2 separate regions of the Homo sapiens genome follow, and region 2 is linked to region 1. Evidence: promoter capture Hi-C in human tissues and cell types (Jung and others, 2019). All regions are on one chromosome and are shown on one strand. Each heading gives the region's core, a stretch centred on a gene start or on the middle of the fragment in contact. The rest is flanking DNA. Distances are from core to core; before and after follow the strand shown. Region 1 holds the start of GAL3ST1 (galactose-3-O-sulfotransferase 1). Region 2 overlaps MORC2 (MORC family CW-type zinc finger 2).

Region 1 (2,916 bases), core at 113-2,612:
CAGGGCAAGACTCCTATGATTTGGAGTCAGCTCAGCTACCTCTGAGCCATGTGACCTTGGACAAGTCATTGAATTTCCCTGAGCCTCAGTATCCCCCTCTGGATAATGGGGATAGGTAGCAATGCCTCCTTCACAGGACAAGGAACAGTGCGTACACAGTGACTGCTCTGGTCCAGGACTGCCCTCCTGTGCCCCCTGTGTGGGCCTGGATGAGCCTCACCCTCTCTGGGCCTCAGGTCACCCCGTCAGTAAAGGAAGAGATTGGGTTTTCCCAACTGGAATGGACAGTCCTCTACACCTCTCTCCCCTCTGGAGGATTCTCATGCACCTGTCACCGCGGCAGCCCGGGGATCAGGTGTCAGGCATGCTGCCTTCTCTCCCTTTCCTTCCCCCTGGTGTGGGTTACAGCAGCCAGACATGCCCATCACCTCTCTGGCTCTGGGCAGCTGGGCGGGGCAGTTCCCACTGGGCAGGGCTCGGTCTGTAGTGTGCTCTGTGCTGGTACCAAAATGCTGGCCTGGCACCGAAGGGGCAGATCAAGCTGGACCCCCTTCCTGGGCACTGGGCTAGGAAACAGGAACTGTAGGATTTCCTATAGGACCCCTCCTGGATGCCAGGGTTTGTCCCACTCTCCCAAACCTCTCCTTGGTGGCTTTGCTTCCTCTGGGGTACAGGCCAGGGCCTTCCCCCAGCAGAGGGGATCCATCCCTTACTATGGTCTCCGGTTCCTGCTCTGATCCCCTTTCTAGGAAGGGCTGATGGAGACAGGGGAGATCTCTGCCCCTCCTCCCCTAGGGCTCTGGCCACTGTGTCCAAGATTAATCATTAACGCACTCCCAGCTCCAGCTCAGCCCCAGCAGCCTGCCTTCTGCCCCACCCATCCCACCTTCAGGGACTGGGAAGCCCTGGAAGGGGGGTTGGGGGACAGGGGAAAAAACCAAGGGCATGGGGGGCACCAACCTGTGCCCTCCCTGGCCCCTACCAGGCCACCCTCTGGCAGTGGGCAGGGGTACCCAGCGCTTAGAACAGCGGTACTGCACTCCTACTCCCCTCCTCCGGCGCGTGGTCCCAGTTTGGGGGTTAGCGTAATGTGGGCGGTATCCCCAGGGAGTAGACTGAGGCAGGGCTCAAGCTGGCAGTGGGTGCTGGAGCCCGGGACGTACCTTGTCCCCGTCCTCCTCCGCCTCAGCGTGGCTGGCTCGGCCCGGGCCGCGCCGCCCGGGCGCTCACTGGGCGGCGGGGCGCACCCGGCCGGGCCCCCCGCTCCACCAGGCCTGGTCCATGCCCCCGCCCCCGCCGCCGCTGCCGCGCCGCGCCCGCTCCCGCGCCGCGCCCGCTCCCGGCCAGGTGCCGCCGCCAGCCTGGCCCAGCCTCCGGCGCCGGGGCCAATGGACGCCCCGGACCCCAGACCCCTCCCCGCCCCGGGCCGGCCCCCTCCCCGCCCCATCCCGGCCCCTCTGCGCCCGCCCGAGACGCACAGAAGCCGCATTCAGCGCGCTGGGGCGCAACGCTGCGCCCCCGCCGCCGGCCCAACAAGGCCCGTTTGTCTCGGACGCGCCAACGGGGCCATTGTCCCGCCCCGGTCCTCTGGCTCAACGGAGCCCCCAGCCCAGAAGACTTGAGGATGCCCAGGCTTGGTGGTGGTGGGGAGGGGAGCCAGGGCTCTGGGAAAAAGGCGGCGGACGGACTATTGCTTAACTTTGGTTGGGGGGTCCTGGGGCCCTTAGGATCCAATGGATCATACGGCTTCTTGCTCTAGTCAGTGCCAACTGGGGACGACACATTTTTGGCACTCATGGGAGTGGAGGGAGCTCAAGCAAGAGACTGAGCTCCAACTGGTCCTGTCACCTGGAGGTCTCAGCTGTCACTCTCTAGGGTGCCAATGAGGGCTGAGCAAGGCCACCAGGAGGCAGGTGTCCCATCCAGGCCCTGTCTCATTTTCCAGGCCTGGCCTTTCCTTCTTCACCCCAGAGGAGCAAGACCATGGATGAGGACCAATGCCTGCCAGGGGCCAGGAATCCTCAGCGCCAGCTGTGGGCAGTAAGGAACCAGCTGGCCACCCAGTGGGGCCTGGGATGCGTCAGAGCCCCACTGCCCCCGCCATTACTGGGCGATTCTGGAATGGGGAAAATTCCACATCAGCATGGCTGCCAGGAATTTTTCCGTATCTGATGGGCCTGCGCTCTAGCCGTGTGGCCCTGGATGCACAGTTCCCCAGACAGGCCTGAGTTGTCTCCCGGGGCTGCAGGCTCTGGCTCCAGAGGTCCTGACCCTCTGTCCCAGCCTCTGGAGGCAACCTCACTCCCTCCCATCGCCGTGTGCATGACAGAGTGGGAATGGCACACAGCCCTCTCCTTCCACCCACAGCCAGTCCCAGCTGAGAGGGGGAGCCCTAGGTTTTCTGCTCCCCAGGCCAGAGCCTGCCCAAGCTCTTGCCTTCCCCCTGCACAGGTTGGACCTACATCCACTGCCACAAAAACATTCTCTGCCCACACAGCCAGCAAACAGTGAGAGGCAGAGGGCAAGGCCCTCAGGTGCCTAGATTCAGGGAAAGTAGAGCCATTCCAAACCCACACTTCCTCAGCGTGGCCCCAACCCTCGACAGCACTCACCCCGGGAAGTGAGTCCTGGGAGGGGCTGAGTGAGCACTGGGAGACCCAGGTTGTGGTCCTGGCTCCATCATGATGCACTGGCGGTTCCAGGCAAAGGCATATCCCAATGGGCGTCAGCAGGGACACTGCCAAGGTCAGCGGGGAAGCTGTCAGGCAGGCCTCACAGACCGTAAGTGCAGCTGCTGCGGAATCCTACGCTGGGAGGTACTCAGCGGTTCTGCCAACGCGCCAAGGCAAGCTGAGGGCAGGACCTCACCGCAGACCCACAGATCCTTCCGGTTCTGGCTTTTACCTTCTGGGCCGA
Region 2 (2,940 bases), core at 440-2,939, 360 kb after region 1:
CTGCTGGTAAGGGGCTCCACTTCCACTCCCACTCCCACCCCCGCCACAGGCTGCCAAGTCACTCCCCCAGCTCACCTTTCTGAGCTCTCTTGAGGTCAGCCGAGTCCTCTTCCCCAGCACTGTCTGAGAGCTGCGTGGAGAGCAGTCTATTAGAGGCATCCCCAGTGCCCCCCAAGAGCAGACTTGTGCCTTACTGGCCACCCGGGGTCATCAGCCATCATCTTCACGACTTCCTGTGCTACAGTTTAAATCACCAAGCCCCGTTGAGAGCCACACTCCAAAATCACTGTCCAAGGTACCTACCCTTCTGCTACCTTTACGAACAAGACAGCAGGCAAGGGACATGTGTTTCAAGCCTCACTGATGTACGTCTGTGTGACTTCAGGCCTGTGGTTAAGCCAGAAGCCAGTCTCACTCAAGACCCTACCTGGCACCATGTTTAGTCACTTGTGTAACTGAGAGTCCTTGAGAGATCACTAGGCTTCTGGAAGGCTCATGACACGAATATAAACAGAGTTGGTGCAGACTGCTGGTGGGGGGGGTAGACTGCTGGTGGGTTGTGTAGACTGCTGGTGGATGGTATAGACTGCTGATGGGGGGTGCAGACTGCTGGTGGGGGCTGCAGGCCCTAGAGAGAGAGGCTTTGAGAACCTCACCTCAACCACTCACCTCATTCGAGTCCTTCTTTTCCTCCTTCACAACAAATCTGCCCCGCTTGCACCTCTCCTTCCTCCTCTCAGCTTCCTCCTCAACTTCTTCCTCATCAGAAACTGCGACACTCCGCTTCCGACTAGGGGTAGCCTAGAGCAAGAGGAGCGTGAGGATGTGAGGGGCCCTGTTCAGCCTCTAAGGAGCAGGAAGATTTCATCTAGCCTAAAGGAGTCGTTCCAAGAGGAGCTGTACTCCCTGCAATCCCTGCCTGACATTACTTGGAATGTACACAGGCAACCCACTGGCCCCTGCGCCATAAGGATTTTTGCTCAAAGCTATCATAGGAGAAGCTTCTCAATTCCCTTCCCACCTTAGTCTACCTGGCCAACTAGCTGTCACCTCCCCAAGAACCACCGACCACTGCCGCAGCCCACTCAGGCTATCTGTCACCAGATGACTGACCTAAGCCCACACTTCGAGAGCCAGTGGAGGTGACTCAAGTTTGTGGCAGACCAAAACTCGGAGGCAACAGTGAAGAGCTCGCTGTACAGGCAACCGATGTGCTGTCTGGCCCCAACAAGTCCGTTCAGCTATCAAGGCTTCCCGTCCTCAGGGGCAGCAGCAAAGCTTTAGATTCAGTATCTTCCGAAGGCTCCCCCAGTACAGCTGTGACACTGCACAATTCCATTCCTACACTACTGACACTGGGCTGGGGTATTAAAGAGGACAAGCGTCTCACCGGGGAGAGTTTGATGGGTGACTCTGTCTTCTTCACCACTGGAGTCTTGATGACTTTGGGAGAAGGAACCTCCCGAGGGCTCTTGGAGTTGGGCAGTAAAGATGGTGACAGTTGCTGCACCAGAGGGGCAGGTCGGGATGCAGTCTTGACGAGAGTGTTGGCAGGCTTTCGGGGTGCCTCAGGTGGCTGGAGCAGCCTAGATGTGCTGGCCTCCTCCCGGGCTGCCAAAGCAGGGAGCTTTGGGGTACTGCTGATGACAGGAGCCTTTCGGGGCTGGCTGGCTGGTCTAGGAGTTGGCAAAGAAGGGGGTCTGCTGGGGGCGTTCCTGATCACAGCAGGTAAAGGGGGCGACCGAGGACGCTGAGGTCTACGCACAGGTTCCTAAAAAAAGGCCCACAGAGAGTGAGAACACTGATCCTAGCATGAGACACCTGAGGAAAAGCCCTTCCCAGGCCCCTGGACTTCACCTCAGTGGAAGGTCTGGTGGTCACTTCCAAGGGCAATTTCTTCAGGTCTGCTTGGGAGCGGATGGGTGTGGTTTTCTGCAAGGCAAACATCATGATGAAGTTGTTTGCATATTTTAGTATACTTGAGCAAACTTTTTGGATAGTGTCTGGAACCAGGGACAAAAAAAATAGAAAACCTGAGCCATAGTCCTACTCTTACAAACCTCCTGTTCTCATTGGGGAGACACAAAATACATAAATACTCAACTATCAGCAAATTACAGGAAACTGTGTGATTAATCCAGCAACTGAGAGACTGGCAAAAAGTGTCAATAGACTAAATTCCTATAAAAGGAACCCAAAAAGGTAGAAAGGGCCCGAAGGATAGGGAAAACCTGGATGAAGCCAGAAAGGAAAGGTGGGATTTAGCAGCTAGGGAGGCATATAAAACATCATGGGTTAGTGAGAGCACATCTGCACAGACACAGAAGCCAAAAAGGGAAATGGTTGTGTACTAAATATGATAAACAGATGATATCACAGACATATCTAGAAAAAAACATAGAAAAAATAAAAATGTAAGTGAATAAGCAGTTTAAAAGGAATAAAAGTGGACACATGAAAAATTATGCAATCTTAGAAATATTAAGGAAATTAAATTATAAAACATGCATCTTTGCCTATGAAATTTGCAACAACATTTAAAAATAATGCTCTCATATACTGCTGGTAAATAATAGAAATTAACACATCTCTGGAGGGTACTTTAGAAATAGTTGCAAAAAGCCATAGAATTTTACAATGGACCTTTTAAGTCCTTTAATTTCACTTCTAGAAAGTCATCAAAACAATTATGTGTATGTGTATGTATTAATATAAAACATATACATGGCATTATCTCCCTATTTCTATTAAAAAATATATGTGTGTTATGTGTAGGTATTCATGAGTTCATGACAAGTTGGAAGGATGTATGGTTAATGATGGTTACCTCTAAGGCAGAATTTTTATTTTCTAGAGTTTTATACATTCTAAATGAATTGGACCACTTTGAAGTATATAAGCATTTTTTCTTAAGAATAAGCAAGGTGTTATTCTTAAAAT

What was found. The method cuts DNA at HindIII sites, captures the fragments that hold promoters and counts their contacts. A contact is called where the count stands out against the background at its distance.
Region 2: a fragment that was not itself captured here is called in contact with the fragment with the promoter of GAL3ST1 in region 1 in 2 of the 25 tissues and cell types used here (lymphoblastoid cells and spleen).

What each region holds. Positions count from the first base shown.
Region 1 is chr22:30,573,303-30,576,218 of GRCh38, forward strand. It overlaps GAL3ST1 (galactose-3-O-sulfotransferase 1), which reads right to left and starts at 1,363. Exons shown (of 4, transcript NM_001318104.2): 1 at 1,164-1,363. RefSeq lists enhancers at 1-602, 603-1,283. The HindIII fragment of the contact is 15,540 bases long and covers 1-2,916 here.
Region 2 is chr22:30,933,391-30,936,330 of GRCh38, forward strand. MORC2 (MORC family CW-type zinc finger 2) reads right to left here. Exons shown (of 26, transcript NM_001303256.3): 18 at 1,858-1,932; 19 at 1,391-1,771; 20 at 670-801; 21 at 76-130. Among named protein-coding and RNA genes, the nearest start is that of MORC2-AS1, 13 kb to the left of the region's middle. The HindIII fragment of the contact is 4,500 bases long and covers 1-2,940 here.